Linked DNA regions of Homo sapiens: all the other regions are linked to region 5. Evidence: promoter capture Hi-C in 16 types of primary human blood cells and fetal thymus (Javierre and others, 2016). All regions are on one chromosome and are shown on one strand. The core of a region is centred on a gene start or on the middle of the fragment in contact, and the rest is flanking DNA. Distances in the headings are between cores, read along the strand shown. Region 1 has its middle 63 kb from the start of TIAM2. Region 2 has its middle 34 kb from the start of MIR1273C. Region 3 has its middle 9.3 kb from the start of MIR1273C. Region 4 has its middle 55 kb from the start of MIR1273C. Region 5 holds the start of CLDN20 (claudin 20).

Evidence for each region. Contacts are between HindIII fragments. The CHiCAGO score rates a contact against its expected background, and 5 or more counts as called.
Region 1: a contact is called between a fragment that was not itself captured here and the fragment with the promoter of CLDN20 in region 5, in 8 of 17 cell types (M1 macrophages, M0 macrophages, M2 macrophages and 5 more). The highest score is 8.6, in M1 macrophages.
Region 2: a contact is called between a fragment that was not itself captured here and the fragment with the promoter of CLDN20 in region 5, in 3 of 17 cell types (M2 macrophages, endothelial precursors and M1 macrophages). The highest score is 7.5, in M2 macrophages.
Region 3: a contact is called between a fragment that was not itself captured here and the fragment with the promoter of CLDN20 in region 5, in 1 of 17 cell types (M2 macrophages). The highest score is 5.0, in M2 macrophages.
Region 4: a contact is called between a fragment that was not itself captured here and the fragment with the promoter of CLDN20 in region 5, in 7 of 17 cell types (M2 macrophages, megakaryocytes, M0 macrophages and 4 more). The highest score is 7.0, in M2 macrophages.

The regions. Positions count from the first base shown.
Region 1 is chr6:154,930,818-154,934,550 of GRCh38, forward strand. No RefSeq gene overlaps it. Among named protein-coding and RNA genes, the nearest start is that of TIAM2, 63 kb to the right of the region's middle. The HindIII fragment of the contact is 1,422 bases long and covers 1,442-2,863 here.
Region 2 is chr6:154,885,367-154,888,974 of GRCh38, forward strand. No RefSeq gene overlaps it. Among named protein-coding and RNA genes, the nearest start is that of MIR1273C, 34 kb to the left of the region's middle. The HindIII fragment of the contact is 1,364 bases long and covers 824-2,187 here.
Region 3 is chr6:154,860,733-154,864,573 of GRCh38, forward strand. No RefSeq gene overlaps it. Among named protein-coding and RNA genes, the nearest start is that of MIR1273C, 9.3 kb to the left of the region's middle. RefSeq lists silencers at 2,610-2,810, 3,043-3,337. The HindIII fragment of the contact is 3,395 bases long and covers 218-3,612 here.
Region 4 is chr6:154,906,446-154,910,401 of GRCh38, forward strand. No RefSeq gene overlaps it. Among named protein-coding and RNA genes, the nearest start is that of MIR1273C, 55 kb to the left of the region's middle. The HindIII fragment of the contact is 776 bases long and covers 1,905-2,680 here.
Region 5 is chr6:155,261,865-155,265,738 of GRCh38, forward strand. CLDN20 (claudin 20) reads left to right here and starts at 2,149. Exons shown (of 2, transcript NM_001001346.3): 1 at 2,149-2,424. The region is part of intron 5 of TFB1M (transcription factor B1, mitochondrial); the gene reads right to left. The HindIII fragment of the contact is 9,121 bases long and covers 1-3,874 here.

The DNA.
Region 1 (3,733 bases), core at 903-3,402, 330 kb before region 5:
TGCATTGATAGGATTTAACAGATTTCCGGGGCTGAGAAAATGGGGGCTTCCCACATTGTGAACGCTCTGTCTGGGTAACACAGAGGCCTTGTTTAGGTGAAAGCATCTTGTGTTTCTGTGTCAGTTAAGCCATGCGTGGTGATGGAGGCAGCACTGTCTGGACTGGTCTCAGAGCAATTCCTTTTTTTTTTGAGACAGGGTCTCTCTCTGTCGCCCAGGCTGAAGTACAGTGGGATGATCTCGGCTCACTGCAACCTCCACCTCCTGGATACAAGCCATTCTCCTGCCTCAGCCTCCCAAGTAGCTAGGATTACAGACATGTGCCGCCACGCCAGGCTAATTTTTTTTTTCTCTTTTAATTTTGATATTTTTAGTAGGGTTGGGGTTTCATCGTGTTGGCCAGGCTGGTCTCAAACTCCTGACCTCAAGTGATCCACCCGCCTCGACCTCCCAAAGTGCTGGGATTTCAGGCATGAGCCACCATACCTGACCCAGGTACCCAACTTTAAAGAAGAAAGTTTGGTCACAATACCATCTCCTTTTTAAGGGATGAATTGTTTAGGTTCATTTGGCGGTTTTCTAATCTTAACGTTCCGTGGCTTAACATTCAGCACTGAGAACTGAGGATTTGAATTCTGATTTGAGAACTTGATCTGATGAATGTAATGAAGGCATTTCTTTCTCCACCTCCCTTTCCTGGAGGTGCTGCGTACCTTTGCCTTTACTGTATCCTCAGATCAGCTTAGTGGGGCTCCTGCCTGTAGCGAGAAACTAATACCCTCTGTCAAATCTCCTGTATGCATATTTTTAAGCTCCAGATGAACGTTCCTTTTTAAAGAACTTTTACAACAGATTTGTTGTAAGACGTTAAGCTAGAAAGAAGTATTATCCTACACTGCTCTTATACTCTTGTGTTTGGGGTTGGTGGCCTGATTTTTCTTTTGAGGATATGTCTCATCGATGTAATTCTAAAACAATTTTAAACCCACAGATTAAGAACATATGTTTCTTCATGGCACATGTTGAGAAAGACTTCAACTCATTCTGCAGTCTTTACTGAAGAATGTCTTTAAAGCAAAATTGCAACTGGTCAGCTCTATTATCTACAAATTTTATCAAGTCTTGACCCAGAGAGTCAGACCAAAGGCTTATCTGACCTTGTATTCTTCCTCTGACAAAGGCCCCAGTTTTTTCAATTGTTGTGTGGGAAAGGTGGGTGGGGTGGGGAGGGTGATGAGGCGGAAAGATGTTTTCCTTCCCTTGTGTCAGTCACAGAATGTCAGGAATGTTCCTCAAAGGTAGATCTTCAGCATGACCTTTGCTAACTCCTTCTTGAATTTATTTATAGTTTATCTGCTACCTCTTGGGACATAAGTTTCAAATGCTTATTATCTGCAGTAGTACAGTACTTCCTCTTTTTGTCCTAAAATCATTTCTTTCAAGCTTCAAGGAGCACCCTGGGTCTCAGTATTTGGAAGCGATGATTACATCTGTATTTTCTCCATTCGGTTCAGCTTGATCCCAGAGGCTCTGATGGTATCTGCTCAGCCTTTGTCAAGACTGAGCAGGCTAATTTTAGTTTAGAAAATGGAAATTTTTCAAAGGAAACTTCCTCCACTAGACAAATTGTTTTTGACCTGAGGTTTTGATCAGGGTACAGTGGTCCTCATTGTTGAAATGCAGGAACACTTCTTGTTGACCGCTAACAAAGGGTTAAACATCACGGGCAGTGTTAGAACAAGTTAAAAACAGAACCTATCCAAAGCATATAACGTGCACTCCAAAATAAGCCAGGCTCGCTCCTTGTTAATGGGATCATTGCAGACATGCCAAATTCTACAACTAGTCAATTGTATACATATGGTAAAACTTTTCATACCATTCAACATTTGCTGCAATATGATTTTAATTACATACAGATTGGGTAGCTGGAAGAAAGCACTGGAATTAAATAGAAGAAAGTTCAACACAAGCTCTTTTATAAGCGGCCCTGGTTTAGGTTAGGATGTATGCAAATGACTGCCAGGGACAGGAAGAGGAATGTGTGGTTTGGAGGACTCTGGGGATGGGACATGACTCATCTTCAACCTGGGAACACAGTTGTTTATCTGGAAGGGAGAGTTTACAGAAACGGTGATTATATTCCTTTTGAAGTTGCAACTTATGCTGATGCTTGCACCTTGTTACTTACATTCTTCCTTCCCAAGTATAGGGTAGTCTCTGCAGACAAAGTTGCTCTCTGGGCAAAAATTGCATTCAGTTGGAAAAGTGGTGGGGGTTGGATATGAGAGAATGGTACTTCTGAAAATGGTACTTCTGAAACTCCCCCCCCTTTATTAGGCTGTGTTTCTTGTTTCTTTGAAGTTAATTTTACATAATGATTTCAAACGTGGTGCTGTTTATTTTATGCAAGAAAAGAGCTGGGAAGCACATTTTGTTTCAGATTCTGAAATGGCGATGGCCGTTGTGGGAGCGTGGATGGGCCTTTGCCTTTTACAGAGGGGGAAACCGCCACTCTGGAATGTGCTTTCCTCAAACTTTCATGGCATATCTTTGGTTTTTCTCATAACTTACTGGAATGGCTTTTACTGACTAAATATCTTTTTGGTGAGCCGCTCTGCATCTCAGCTTTCTCTTTTGTGAAATGAAGATAACATCCCCCAGCGCTTACTTCATGAGGTTTTTGTCTGAAGAAGTTTGAAGACTTCAAGACACAAAACCTGACTGAACTGCAGAGCCTGCGAGCATCTCCCAGGGAAAAGATGGAGTTAGTGTAAGAAGGATGTGGAACGAGCCCTGCTTTCTAGAACCAGTCCTGTCATCACAGCAGGCCATCTCCAGGATGGGGATGGGGGTGCCGGGAAGCTTAGTGTAGGGGCCAGCAGAGGCTCCAGGGAGAAGGGGACTGGGCCTCCTGGGAGCCCCAGTCACAGAGTGGGTGAGCCAGTGGATCCCAGGTGTGGGGGAAGACAACAGACCCACCCCAACATCATCTTTGGCCAGGAAACTTCATTAGCAGTTTCCACCTGCTCTGCAGCCTCTTGGCTCACCTGGATGTGGCCATAGCAGTGACAAGCATCTGTATCCATGCTCATCCGCCTCTCCCGGTGAATATTCATGTACAGAAATGAATCTGCAGACATACACACTCTAGTCTACTTCTCTGTCGTTTGGGCTTTAGCTAAGTCATTTTTTCTTGAGAAAGTCACCAGTTTTAGCCTAGAGGGAGTTGTGGACTTATGATCTATTTGATTAAATAATTAAGTTATTTATTTACATTTCTCCCTAATAAATATCTGTAGGTTGGAATATCTTACTTTGAGGGAGATGGCAGGACTAACTAGCTAAAATGTAGCCTCTAGTTATGAATTTCTTGAGGGCAGTTTCCACATCTTACCCTCTTTTGCTGGGTAAGTAAAGACTAGATGAATAACTCTAAAGTTAATTTCACTTTGTCGAAATGGATTTTTTAATGGATTGCTTAATGTGTTCAGATATATACAATAATGACATCTACCAGTCATACAAGTAAGTTTCTCCCTGTTTCAAAAGAAAGGAAGGATGGAAGGATAAAAGGAAGAGAAGGAGGAAAGTCATTTGTACTTCATTTCAAATAGGAATTCCTCATTTCTTCTTTGGTATTTACACCAGTGGCCTTAACATATTGATCCCAAGCAAAATTAAATACTTCTAGAAGCCACTTTTACGGAGCCCCAGTACTCAGTTATCAAGT
Region 2 (3,608 bases), core at 256-2,755, 380 kb before region 5:
TGTGGGGACCTACCTAGATCAGCATGTAAGAAAGATACTTCACTTCCCATGTTTTCTTGCCAAGATAATGCCCACTTTGTGCTCCTCATTTCCTCTTTTTCACTGCTTGTTCTGATAGTAATTCTAGTAATAGCCTTTTGTACATACACATAATCTCTTTAACTGTCTGCATCTTCCTTCTCACCCAAGGATAGCCTTTTGCATATAAACATATTCTCTTTAATTACCTGCCTCTTCTTTCTTTCTCACCAAAGGAACGTAAAGAACATCCTGCCCAGCCTTCTAGGCATTCCTTCAATAATTTTCGGGTGCCTGTGCATGACACTACACTGGTTTTATAGTCGATAAAGTTTGGATACGACATTAGTTCTACATTCATAAAGCTTGTACTCTCACAGACATGACAATTTATAAACTAAAAACTGTAAGATGAAGTAGAAAATGTGTCAGACTATAAGAGACTTTTTCTACTCCTTTTTTTCATTTTCAAATTAAAAATGCATTCGTGTAGAATTTCAGATGTTCTACATTATTATTTGATATAGTGTAGAAAAAGGAAATGTTGAAACTAAAAAATGAGCACATGTTGGTCATCAGTTGGGGTGTAGGCTTTGTTCATTTATTTGTTAACCCAGCAAATAATTGAGTGGCCAAGCATTGTATTGGATGCTTGAGAAGTTAAGGAAAAGACCTTGCCCTCCTCCAGTTGAAAGCTCGGGTGCAGTGGTCCAGGAGGCAGGAAGGCATGGAAACCGCATGTGCGTGGTATACTGTCTGCGACTCCCTGGGCCCCATCTGGTGGCTAAGAGGGATCCAGCTAAAAAGCTTCATCAGGAAGGTTAGTCTCAAGGCTTTTGAAGATGGTAGGGCATGTGATTTTACAAAAAGATGGCTGTGAGGGGTGGGGAAGCAAGCCAAGGAAACTAAATAGACCTCTTTGGGAGGGTGAATGTTTCCTAAGTCTTTGATTCAAACTTGGCTAAGGGCAAAGGACAAGGGAAATCCCATAATTTTGAGAAAGGGAATGATGTAAATATAATGTGATGGTAGTTTTACATCTTTTAAATGACTTTATCTTTTAGGCTGGGAAAGAGTAAATGCAGGTCAGCCACCTATTTATGAGTCCCAGTTCATCTTTTTTAGAAAGTCAGATAACACTTTTCAAGACATACTGCTTATTAATCCTAGACATGAGAGACTTATGAAAGGCAAAAGATATGGTGATGCTTCACTTAACTAAATCCCAGAAAATGTTGGCTCCCCTTCTAAAAATCTTGAAATACAGTGTTTTTTGGAACATTAATAAGAAGACAGCTTGCTATCACCAAATTGTTAGTCTGCATTAGAAACTCAAAACTGCTAACAGATGCACCCAGCAGATTTTTAAATATGGAATTATTTCAGCCAGCTGCCAAATCATTGATCTATGTAACTTTTTAAAATATGAAATATACATATGAATCTACATAACTGTTCAATTGACAAATGTTCCTGTTTGTAGTGTATACCATGAACACTTGATTTCCAAACTGAGACTTGCCTTGACTAGAACTAAGCTACTTAGATTAACTCAGTAGTCTAAAAACAATTTAGATTAAGTTTTTTAGAGTAGGGTTTAGGTCTTAGTCCTGATTTTCTCCTTTAACTAACTAACACTGGATAGGTCTCAGCATGCCTGAGAATTTTCCACATTCCTTTAAAACCATGTTTCGAGTTTGTACATATGAGATTTATACGATGCACATATAATCAGTGTATGTTGTTAGAATATATTTAGAAAAACTCCCCACGTGTTCACATTAATTAGGTAATGAATTTACTAAAGCACATGGGCCCAGGTCCACTATGTGCCCACATACATTAGTCATACTTGCTCCCATGAAGGAGTTGAATAGCAGAGGAGTGATAAACAGAACATCGCTCCTGTTCCCTTTAGAAGCTAGACTCCAGTCCTGGACATATCTGTCTGTCAACTCTAAACCCCATCTATTTGGGGGTTTGTTTAAAATGGGTGCACACAAGAGAGTTGTCAGCCCAGGCTCCCTGGACCTGTGGCCACATGGTATGAGACGGAGACCTAAGTTTAGCCAGTCCTGTCCACACACCCACCCAATCCACCCAACTAGATGCCTCTTTAAAAAATAAGCAAGTGTATCTCCCATTTTTATAATAAAATTCCACTTATGAAGCTTCTCAATTTTGCAAAATTTTCCTTTTGTAATTTTTTAAACTTTTGTTAAATTTTAAGAGTCTTTATCTGTCCCTTTATATAGATAAAATTGGGTCTCAGAATATTCCTATTTATTTTTTCATTATGATCCTATTTTTTAAATCATACAAATAATGCATACTGTAGAAAATAGTATAAGATAGAGGTAAGTATGGAAAAAATAAATCACATGATTCTAAATCCGAGCATTTTTTATTCTTAAAAAAACAGGAGAATTCTGTTTGCCATACAGAATAAAACACTGCAAAAAGAAAATTGTTTTAAAGAGTACCAGACAGTGTAGAGTAGAGGAGGCATCATTCGTTCTGGAGTCCCCAGAGCTGGGCTTTCAGCCTGGTTTTGCCACTTACACAATATGTTGCCTTGAGCCATAGGCCTACTCTCTTCGAAAATGGGGATAATGATGCCCGTCTGTCCAGGGTGCTGATGGGAATCCATCGCAGAGGCAGAGTGTAAAGCAAATGGGTGGGTGTTATCAAGTATAAGACTGTGCATAATACATGTCATTGATCACATATACCTAAAGTGCTGCTCTTACTAGAACATTTTTTGGAAGACAGATTTCAAAGGGTTCTGAGATGAATTTAGTGGACAGAGTTTTGAATCCGAAAGCTGTTTTAGTTTGCTTTTAATAGAATACCTAAAACAGTAATTTATAAATAAAAGGAATTTATTTCCTACAGTTATGGAGGCTGAGAAGTCCAGGGTCAAGGGGCTGCATCTGGTGAGGGCCTTCTTGCTGATGGGGACTCTGCAGAGTCCTGAGGTGGTCCTGGGCATCACAGGGCAAGGGGGCTGAGTGTGCTAGCACAGGTCTCTCTTCCTCCTTTTGTAAAACTACCAGTCCCATTCCCATGATTACCTATTAATCCAGTCATCCATGAATGGATTAGCCCATTCATGAGGGCAGAGCCTTCATGACCAAATCACCTCTTAAAGGCCCAACCTCTCAATGGCGCCACGTTGGGGATTAAGTTTCAGCATGAGTTTCAGATGGGTGGACATTCCAATCATTGCAAAAGCTGACACGAGGGATGATAAACTCACAGTATAATCTTGCTAGTATGTGTAAGGTGACATATAATCCTAATGAAAAAGAAAGGAGGTTCTTGTGCCCCCAGTCTACTCTCTGACGGGCCAAATCTGAAAGGACCAGCACAGGAGAGGCAGACTCCTACCTAATTCAAGAAGAATGTGGAAGAGAGGTACAGAACTGTAAAGGCAAATCAGGAGGCTGGAAGTTGGTTTGAGGATGAAGCTTATGTAAAAACAAGTGCCTGTGGCATTATGTTAATAAATGACAAAGCCAGAACTCCATGTCAGAAGGAGCTAAAGCCTAAAATAGGTGGGAAGATGATGAGGTTGTCCCTAGTTGTTC
Region 3 (3,841 bases), core at 665-3,164, 400 kb before region 5:
TATAGGTTAATGATGAAATGGCAGGTAATTCACACTTTTGGACAGAGCGCACCGCCCCCGTGGAATCACCCTACAGAAGAGGCCAGCTATAAAGGATGTCTCACACCTTTAAGATCAGTGTTTCTCAATGTGTGGACCATGGATACCTGTATTAGAATACCCAAAGGATTTGTTTAAAATTCAGGCTGAGCCCTTCCCAAGACCTAATAGAGCTAAAAGCTTTGGGAGTAGGTGGAGGAAACCTGCATCTTTACCCAGCAATCCAGGTAATTTATATGCATACTACATTTTGAGACCCACTGATGAAAGAATTCTAATTTTCTATAGAGTTACTCTAGCAAGGAACCTTCTCATTTCTTATGTATTAGGTTATTTCTATATGGAACATTTCCCAGTAGACCATATTATTTATGGTATCTTATTAGGTGGAAGCCAAAAGAACGTTAAATAATCTGCTGGTGTTTTTGGGTTAGTTTTGCACTATTTCTCACAGTGCAAGCAATTCTTGTTACCTAGTAAAACGGTTCCCCCTTTGAAGGGTTGAATATTGTTCACATAGCACCCCAGCCTGTGGTGTATATGTTTAATCTGTCAAATCTCATTAAATTTTTCTTCTATAAGAATGCTAATGATACCAATTTCTAGAATTGAATGATTTCTACTCTGCCTGTTGGACTGCAAATTTGAAATCCCCTATAATAATTAGACCCCTCCTTAGAGTATATTATAATGACCATCGAACCTGTATCTAAAAATTCTAGTAACTTAACCATCCAGTCTTAAAAAAAAAAAATTAAAACAGGAATTCCAAAACAATTTCAGAAGTTAGAATAGGTGAAGTTAGCCTATTTTAGATGTGTGCAGGGATGGCAGTGGGGGGGAAAGATGGATTACTAAGTATCATTTATTTCTTGCTGGGTAAAAATTCAAACACAAGACCTTATAGCTGCCTTTTTATTACACTTGGCTTCCTTTTAGCTTTATTGGGCTTTGGTTGGTACATATGTGAATAAACTTAGACTATTATTGTATTTGACTGACAAACACTTAAAAATGAGTTTGTTCATATTCATTTTAGGTGGAGTTAGAAATGGAACCTAAATTGTAAAATATAATACAGCATGCTGCTTTTCGTTCTGGTTTTATGGTAACATTGAAACTAAAATGTTTCTTTCTAATGTGTCCATCCTGACTGCCATCCTTAAACTAGAGCCTCTTGTCTGCTATCTGAAAAGAGCAACAGCAGGAAGGAAGCAATTGATTTATACACATTTGAATTAGTCTGTAAAGCCCAAGGCCTGTGTTTGTTCAAGAAGAGACAGAGGCAGCAGTAATGCTCTGTGCATCAGGTGGATTAGTTGGAAATGTGCAAGCTATCATCTTTCTAAGAAAAGCATTTTAACAAGGCAAATTTGTGCCTAGCTCTTTTTTTTCTGTATATCTGTTGTGTTGATTTTTAATTTGGATTGTTTTCCACTGGCTTTAAAAATGCAAGTCTTTTTCAAAGAAAGGAGAAAGCATTTTGTAGCTAGTAGTATTTCAAGATTCCGTCATAATGTACATTGATTATACATCAAACTATATATAGTGTAGTTAGCTGGATGTAGACTGTGTAGCTTTGTAGTTTGCAACTTAGTTGTATATTTAAATGAGAAACAAGTGACTAACTGGATCCCATCAAGGTGGGTGTTAAGTACAGCCTCAGCCATAAAAGACTTAATCAGACCGGGTGCAGTGGCTCATGCCTATAATCCCAGCACTTTGGGAGGCCGAGGCAGGTGGATCACCTGAGGTCAGGAGTTCGAGACCAGCCTGACCAACATGGAGAAACCCCGTCTCTACTAAAAATACAAAATTAGGCGGGCATGATGGTGCATGCCTGTAATCCCATCTGAGGCAGGAGAATCACTTGAACCAGGAGGCGAGGTTGCGGTGATCCGAAATCACGCCATTGCACTCCAGCCTGGGCAACAAGAGCGAAACTCCCTCTTAAAAAAAAAAGACCTAATCAATACGTTTCCAAGGAGAAAGCGGGATTTTGAAATTCCTACTAGCTGCCAAAAGACAAAATGTTCCTGACACAGCTTTACTACCAAGTGAAAAAATTAAAAAATTCATTAGCTATAGCAAAAATCAGTTTTCAGTTTTTCCGGTTACCGGTTTTCTGGAAATCATTTGATTTTCAAATCTGCTGTTAGATTGCATTGTGCTTTTATTGAAATAGAGCATCTGGAGACTCTGCTATAGATGCTCTGCTTCAGAAATGAAGATGTCTCCATTAAATTTGGTCATAGTAGCATGAAATCTTTTAGCTGAATATAAAACATTTTGACACCTTTAAAGGATAAACGCTCATACCTTCAGGACTGTCAATTCATTTTATTAGTTATGTGGTATTAGATGCATCTCCCTTGGTGCATACTCTTAATTGTTAATTTAAAGTTCCTTGTAGTTTTAATTTTAAAGGACTTATTTGGAATGTTATTACATTTCTCTCATTTTGTAATCACCAACAGAATTTTGCCATTGCCAGATAATTTAACTAGTGCAGGAATTTGACTTTGTTATATACTCATGAGGGGCAAATTCTTTACTGATCATTTGATGGTTAGCTTTGCCAGAAGATTAGGAGTATTACTATTTCAGTTTCCCAAGATGATAAGTCTTTGAAAGTGGATAAGAGAATTGACTCAGTAAAGGTTACAGCCACAAAGACAGCAAAATTGTAAAATCATTCTCATTGCTGATAAAATTGAGTCTTTAAATGCATAGTTGCATACATGCATGAATGCGTGCACACACACACACACACACACACACACACACACACACACACACTTTGGGAATGTAATCTGTAAAATGTGTTGCCAGTCTCAGAGGAAACTGTAAAATAAGTGGAGTTTTCGTTGTCCTGGCTTTCTTTTCTGCTTCTTTTTATTGATTTTTAAATTAGCCTACCCCAATATCTTCCAGGGAATTTTTAAAAAGTTATCTTTCTCTCTTTCTTGAGGTTCCTCATATACTCTCACTCACACGCACATTTTCACGAGAGCGAAGTCTACCTTTAACTGAAATGAATGACTGCTGAATGGTCAGGAACTCCAAGTCCACATGGAATTCTTGCTCTTCGGTCCCAGACTCTCCCTTCTGTGTCCCCCTTAGGCAGGTGAGCATTCTGTAGTTTGTAGCCACAGCTCCACCTGGTTTGGGTTTTCTTCCTGTCATTGCCTTATTCCAGTTAATCATTACCTAGACTAGTTGCTAAGCTGAAAATTCATGTTGTGGAATTTCATATTGGATAACATAGTTACTTTTCTTGTTTTTTAAACAATGCTTTCAAAAAATAAAGGAAAAAAACGAATCTCTTAATTATAGCATTTTGGAGCCTTAACATTTGATCAGCATTTAAAAGCAGTGTTACATGTTTGAATTGTGGTGGTTCTTGAAACTGTTTTACTGCCTTCTTTGTCCTCATGGAGAATGTTGTCCTAAGCACAGAACTTGTCATTCGAGTATCTTGAGGATTTGTACAAATTGTTTATCCTGTGACATCAATTCTTTGTGCTAACTGGTTTCTGCCTTTGACAAGGCTTTTGAAATTTGTGCAACAAAAGCTTCCATGGGTGAACGACAATGTAGTTTTGTTCACTGCTAATTCCTGGAGTGGTTAACACTGTTTGGGGTGATACCTTGTTTAAAGCAGACAAGAAAATATGTGAGGATAGCTGTGGAAATAGAAAATATAAAAATTTTAACATTCTCACACTGAGTGACTTTTCATGTAAAGGTTTATTTCCTTTCAGAAATGCTGTCACTTTACTCAATTCAGTGATTTTTTATT
Region 4 (3,956 bases), core at 1,043-3,542, 360 kb before region 5:
TCCCTCGATGCCTAAAGCACAGTAGAAAGATGAAAAATATTTCAGCCACCTTTCTTGTCACACATGACAGGATGCCTTAAAAATAAATGATGCTGGGCGCAATGGCTTACGCCTGTAATCCCAGCAGTTTGGAAGGCCAAGGTGGGTGGATCACCTGAGGTCAGGAGTTCGAGATCAGCCTGGCCAAAATGATGAAACCCTGTTTCTATTAAAAAATACAAAACAATTAGCCAGGCGTGGTGGCGCCTGCCTGTAGTCCCGGCTACTCGGGGCTGAGGCAAGAGAATCGCTTGAACCCGGGAGGCGGAGGTTGCGGTGAGCCGAGATTGTGCCACTGCACTCCAGCCTGGGCGACAGAGCAAGACTCCATCTCAAAGGAAAAAAAAAAAAAAGTATTCATTTTAGGGTGAGACTTAACTATGTTTAGGTCCCATGTCTGCTACCAGACATGTGTCTTGGTAAAGTTACTTGGCGGAGTTACTTAAACTAGTCCAACTAGTTGAATTATATAACTAGATAGTAGGCTCTTACAGAATGCTTCCATGTCATTATACTTATGAATGTATTTTTCAGCTTTTATGCGATTATTTGTTAATTTAAGAAAGCCAGCAGGGACAAAAAAAGACACTTCTTTGACCTTAATACAGCAAAAGATGTGAAAACATGGAGATGTGTATTTTCAGAATTCTTTACCCATCACTCTATCATTTAAGATTTTAATGGACTTCAAGATGCTAATATTTTGAAAATTCTCTGGAAGTTCACCTGGTTCTCAACTCCAAGCTGAACGAGGACCACGGACACCCAGGTGTAGGTATTTTGTAAGCCACAGCTTGAGATGGTCATACCTGGTTATGCTCTGTAAGGAGCTAAGAAGGCAGGACCATATGATCCTATTAAAAGGTAGCACTGGATGGCCTTCTTTTTAGACGTGCTCCACTGAAGCCTTTTAGTCTACATGTGAAGGAACCAAGGCCCAACAAGTTTAGGTGACTGTGTTAGTCATTGGCAGAATCATGTGTGGAGCCTGGGTCAGCTGACTTCCAGGACGGGGCTGTCTCCTGAACCATTCCAGCATTTGGAGAGCAATGAACACTGCATGACGTGGTTCTTCCTGCTCTGTTGGAAGAAGGCATGGCATTTTAGAGCACAGAAATTCATCAAACATTGAAACATTTGCTGTTGTATTGACACCATCTTTTCTTTAGGAATGATCTTGGAAAAAACTAGGAAAAGTTATTCCATTGACCAGTGATGACCAGTTATTGTTCCTTTTGTCAACAGGCAAGATGATGATGAATGAAGTCCTGGCAGCTTCCTGTGTCCCAGGCCTTGTAGAAATAAATGAGACAGACGTGCTTCAAAGTTCTAATGTGCATCACATCGGATCTTGTTTAAGGAAGCGTTAAAAGGAACCCGCCGTTACCTATTGAGAAGGCTCTGTACTCTCAGGCATTGTTTCTGATTGAATCCAGAGGTTGCAAGCATGCCTTCCTGTATTACCTGTTGGAGCAGGTTTAATTTTATAAATTTTAAACACAAACTCTATGAGTTTCTAGTTCATAATTGTTCTTTTTGGGGATCCACTCAGATGAACAGTATTGCATCTGTAAGAGATACCCACTTCCCAGGACCAGATTTGATTGGAATATCAGTGGCAACAGACTCCATCTGTAGCTCATCCAGTACCAGTGATGGAAAGGACAGATGGCAAGGAAACCCTTTCGGGGGGAAAAAGAAAGTCATATTGTGTTGGACCTACAGATTACTAGAAACATAGCTTTAGTAAACCAAGGCTTTTTTTCTTGAACACAATCTGTGTAGACTGTGTAGTTCTTGATTGGTGGCTTTAATCCATTATCATTAGGTATCTCCTTGAACGTTCTCAAACACTGAAAGTCTTAAGCTTTCATTAAAAAAAAAAGAGTAAATGCAGCTTTCAGAAAATCCAGGATTCTGTACAGTCTTCGAGTGTTTCACTTCAGCCTCCCTGTCCTGTTATTACCAACAGCAGGTACCCGGGTGGTAGACAAGAAGCCTCATGGGATAGATAAGGAAATGAAGATAAACAAACATATCACACTGTATCGTAAACATACTTTATAAGTACATTTCTTATTAGCTTCTTATCCAGGTAGAGATTATAAAAATTTGCTGCAAGTATCCAGACCAGAATTTATGTTTTGGAAATTATCAGTGTTCACAATACCTGCAGGGAAGAAAAAAATACAAAAACTCAAATATGAATACTCTTTACACCCAAAAGAATATTTTTATCATTCTTTTATTTGTTTTTGGCTCTGTCAAAAATTAAAGTGCTTGGAATGCTGTAGTCTGTGGTCTCTTGAAATTTAATCAATGAGAACTTAGCATTTTCACAGTATGCTGTCACTTTGGACATTCATAATAAAAATTGAAACTAATTTTGGGTGTTAGTCATTTATTTTGCTGTGTAGCTTAGTGCACCTTTTGTGGTCTGTCTGTGCCTAGTAACTGAGCAGTTTGTATGTATAGAGATATAGAGATAGATTCATAGTTCAAGCCTTTCACTGTTGTTTTCTATATTTGAACAACCACTCTTTTTATTTATTGAAAGGCCAAGAGATTTTTGAATGCCAAGGCCTTTTTGAATATGCATTCTATAACACAGATTAAAATTAATTCCTGAGGATTATACCTAAGCTTTCTTGAGTTTCTCCTTACAGCAGATTTTCTATTAAATTGATTATATTTTCTATTAAGTAGTAAGTAGGAAACTAGAGAAGGCTATAGGTAATATAGTGGCAATTATAGGCTTTTCAATAGGATCTTTTTTGTTTGACTCTCTGCCCGGTAGTGTTGGAGTATTGTTTTATGTATTCCATCATATTGCAGTTAGAAATAAAACAGCTCCAGAGAAACACAGACATGTGAGCCTATGTAGAAAACTTAGATCTTGCTTGGCACCTCTACCAAATTTGATATGGCAATGAGAAAAGATCCCTTTCCTTCTATTCTTTTGTAACTAAACCTACAATTGGCAAACATCCATCTAGCTCCCACTTCCCACCCCCTCAAGCCTCTACCCCCCACAAAGGAACAGTATGGATTTGTGACTAACCTCACCATTCTTGTGCACATATGAGCAAATGATTTGGGAAATTAAATTGGAAAAAAAAACAAATAGAAGTTTCTGAGGTTCTTTTCGCTGGATAGGGTGAGAGGAGAAACAGAATAGCAAATGAAGGTAAAAGAGGATCATTCCTTCAGCACTGGGTGCATATCCAGTCAGCACTTAGCTGGAGGTGCTTTTCCAATGACCAGGTGCACACGAAGGCCCATCTGTTGGAAGAGTAATCTTTTTAAAATCCCAAGGCAGCATAATGGGGGCAGAGGTTGATGCTTTTGTTCCCTGGATGAATTCCCTCTTCAGAAGCTCCTGCTCCCCTCGACCTGAGCATCTGGACAGGCTCTCTGTGTGAATCGGCATGAATATTGAACAGTCCACACTCCCTCCCTGCTTCAGTCCATGGCAAAGGAAAGCTTTCGAAAGTCACCGTTCTCCAGGGACGTTAAGCATTTCGAGCTGGTTTTTAAAACAGTATTAAGTGACTTTGACAAACTGGAGCTATTTGGTATTTGCACAATTAGAAAGAATCCCCCATGGGGGTTGTTTGGCTTTGTGAGTAAATGCTGGCCTCTCACTTGAATTCCAATACAGAGATCTCATTCAAATGAGATGGGTGGTCTTATGCAATTTCTTTGCGGTTCATAAATTCCTCATAGAGGGGGAAAAACTATTTCAGAATGGCCTCCACAAAGGAATTACACGTAGATGATTACTTTTATCCGGAGTAATTTGTGTTTTAAATGATTTAAAAGTATAAGCAGTTAAGGAAGTCGTGAAGTTTGATGCTTCAGAAGAAAGCCTCCTTTCATTCATTATTAGTGATTTCTCCAAATCCACTATTTCTGCA
Region 5 (3,874 bases), core at 899-3,398:
TGAAGTCCAGCAGGCTGTTCTTGTGAAGATTCTATGGTGGAACAGTAGTTATGAACAGTGACTTAACTAAGATGTCAAATGCTCTTAATAAATTTTAGTAAGTTTTTTGAATTGTGTGCTATATGTTGTTTCATGTTTCCTCAAGTTTAGTAACAACTACCTCTTCCTACAGGACTTCCCTTAGACTTTAACAAAACGCACCATAGAACAGTGCCCAGCTTGGAGAGGTCTGTGGTCATCAGGGAAAGAGGGACTGAAGAAGACAAGGGGCTGTGGAGTGGATGCAGGGTGTAGGTGGGGTAGATGTACTGCTATAGGGAGAGAAGAAAGGTGGTTTCAGCTCAGGGCAGTTCTGGGGAAGGAAAAAGAAGACCTGATCTATGAATGGCAGAGTGCAGGCAGCAGCCCAAGACACACTCCACTGACTTCAGATGTCAGGTTCCTTCCCACAAACTCTGAACTATCCTGCCTACCTCGCCTCCTCCTGATTTGTATAGAGAAGTGGTCCCAACTGTCAGGCATGTGTCTGGCCACTCTCTACACCTCGCCAGCCTTCTCTCACTGGACTCTCCATTTCCCTTTCATCCCCTGAGCTTCCTGGCACCCTTGTCCCTGCCTCCCGTTCTCCAGGACTCATCTCCTGTAACCCTTCAACTCCAGTTCTCCCAGTGACAAAGAGCCAATTCTATCAATTCTTACTAGCAGCCTGCTAGTCTCCAGAAGAAATACTCTTAGCAAAATCTGAGATAAAATCTAATCCCTGCCTAGGCCTAAAACCATGAAATATTATCAAAACTCTACATAAGGCTTACAAACTATTAAGACCAAAAGCACAAATACAGAGATAGATGCACTCTCTTCCAGTACAGAAACTGCCACTTTCAGCTTCCTTAGATTTTAAATTTTGGCCTCATCTTTATTTGCCTGATTTCATTCCTTTGAGATATAGTTGGTATTTGCAAATACAGGAAGTGTCTAACTTTTGCTTGATTTAAATAAAGTTTTAAAACCCTGAACAAATATAGTAGTACCCCATGTAAACTATAGCGTCGACTTCTAAAGTTTGAATACAATTCCAATACTCTGTTAAGTTGGCTTATATTATGTCACGGCTAAAAGAGAATTCCCCTCACAAATGCAGTTACTATTTAGTGGGAGATTCTGTAAAACTCAGCGTCAACAAAGCTCTTCCAGTTATGTCTCCTGCTTCTGGGACGGCCAGGACCTCTCCTGTACCACCCCTTCCTCTCCCTTTCCCCCAAAGGCACCTTTCAGAATTACTCTGAATGATGGAGCCCATTTTTTTCTAGAACTATAGGAAAGCTGCTTGGTAACTATGGTAACGAATACAAAAATGTTTTTTACTTATAATTGAATGCTTATTTAAAATTACAAGTATTATTTTTTCTTCCTTGAGTTTTAAGTCTATTAATGGGTTTGATTACAAAAAAGAAATCAGTACAAAGGCATCAGAAGTACTTAAAATATTCTAGTTTAATGCCGCCAGCCTTTTCCAAACTCAGTCCATCAGTATACCAAAATGACCTACTAAAATTTCAAATGAAAGGATTTAAAATGAATTTAAATATTTGCCTTTCTAACCCTATACGTCAACGCTGTAACAAGCTAAGACTGTTTCTCAGTGTTAGCAGCCTTGGCCATAACAGGCCCGAGGCAGATGTCCTAGTTTCCAGGCCAGGGTGTCTAGGACGTGACTGGTTATCAGCTCAGAGCAGCACTTGGAACTCACAAGGGACCCGGGCTAAGGAGATATTAAATCTTAAATCTTAGATATTAGATATTACAACTGAGAACTGTAATCAACATGATATACAGAGGACACTGAAGAGACGTACAACTCAGTTCCTGATGATTATCATATGCCCAAAAGCTAAGTCACGACCACATGCACAGACACAGAAACAATGCTGGCCACTGTCTACAAAAGGGTCTTCATTCAACACTCTCACGGTGTTCAAGACCATTAGAGGACAAGATAGTGGAGATGAAAAAATGATGAGGAAGTTACTATGTAAATAGCCAAGACACAGCCATAACTTAAGACAACAGAAGGGCTAGTGAAAAAAAAAAAAAAGACCACAGGGAATAATCAGTAAGACTTTAAAGAACAACATATAAGAAGGATTCAAAGTTCGAAGTGGGATGATCACGGGCAGACCTGGGTGGTTGGGAACAGGAAGCATATGGCATCTTGCAGGCTATAGGCACCACAAAATGGAACGCAGGAGGACAGGGGCTTGGGAGAGCCACTTCACTGTCGGGTAAAACAACGGAGCAAGATGAGTGCCTCCGGATGCTTGGTTTCCCCACCCTCCAGTGTCTGCTTGCTCTTCAAGTACCTCCACCAAGCTAATGACAGTCCACTTTAGGACATCACGGGCCTCGAGGTTACAACTTTCCCAGGTAAGGAGAATCCCAGGTAGAGGCAGCAAGTCACTGATGCCTGTGATATGATAATTATGCATGTCATAGAAAAAGAAAATACTGACAAATGTGAATGTAGATCACATTTTCTGGAATTGGTTCACTCTACCTGTGATCCATGTCCAAAAGCCAATTTAAGGAAAGAATTTCCACTGTAAAACCTTAAAGCTGACAGCATTCTAAGTATTTCAAACCAACTGGTTCAATAAAGATCAACTACACGGTCAGTACCTATCCTAAAGTTTACAATTTGTGTTATTGTAACAATATTTATTTCTGCAGAAGTTCTGTCCTCACCCTTTTTTCTTCCTACAGATCTTTGTTTTTTTCTCTTTCTTCTTGGGATCATAAAAAAAGAACAGATTTTAAACAGTCACATAGTGTTTCCTCTCAGAGCAGATGTGGTAGGAAGAACTGAGGCCAAGAGAATGACAGCAAACTCAGATCACAAGAGAAATAAGACTAAGAAATGTGGTGAGGGGGATGAAGAGTTTTTTTACTGTGTAAATTATGTAAATGTACATATGTATGTATGTAAATTACACCTATTAGTAATAACAACAACAAGATGAGTCAGTGTCTCTTGGTCCCAAGAGATTAAACAATTTCAGGGAGATGCACGTGTAATCCTCAAGAAAGCACAAATGGAACAAGAACTGACAATTGTTGTATAAAGGTTTTCTGTTACATTTAATCTGGAGTTCCTGGATGATCAGAGGGAAAAGACCTTCCTAAAACTAGGCCTTTTCCACAAACCACGCCCTTGGTGTCTGTGAAGCAGCAGCATCTGGACGTGCCCTGTGTTTCCTGTCCCGGGCTGTGCTCCCGCTTGGGTTTGTGGATGTGGCAGGAGCTGCCTGAGGCAGCTTCGAGGCTGCCCAGCCGGGCCATGGGTGTGGCAGCACATTGGCAACTGCCAGGGTCTGGACCCCAGCGCTGCAGGTCCTGAGCAACTCCCGTCCCTCAGAGAGAAGACAGGACCTCAGAGAGGCTCTCAATCTAAACAAACTCAGAAGGCACTTGATAAATGCTGCTAGTAATATTATTAAAAGACTGAGAAATAGAACATGCATACAAATATAGTAATTCATAATAAACCATAATTATCAAACGGACTAGACATCACACTGAAGATGCTTGGTCAGTACATTCGTATATTCATAGCTGATACTGTTAATTTCCTAAGGCTGGGACAGAAGAAGAACATTATTTTAGGATTAGGTCAAATCACTTTAAATTTGTAGGGCTGGAACAGGTAACTATTTTATCTTACTCTGAACTGTCATTATTTTCAAGATTGAATGGAAAGCAAAGAAGAAAAAACATTTGTATTAGGGTTCTCTAGAGGGACAGAACTAATGGAATATATATATATGAGTTTATTAAATATAAATATTAAATATATTTATATATAATATAAATATATATT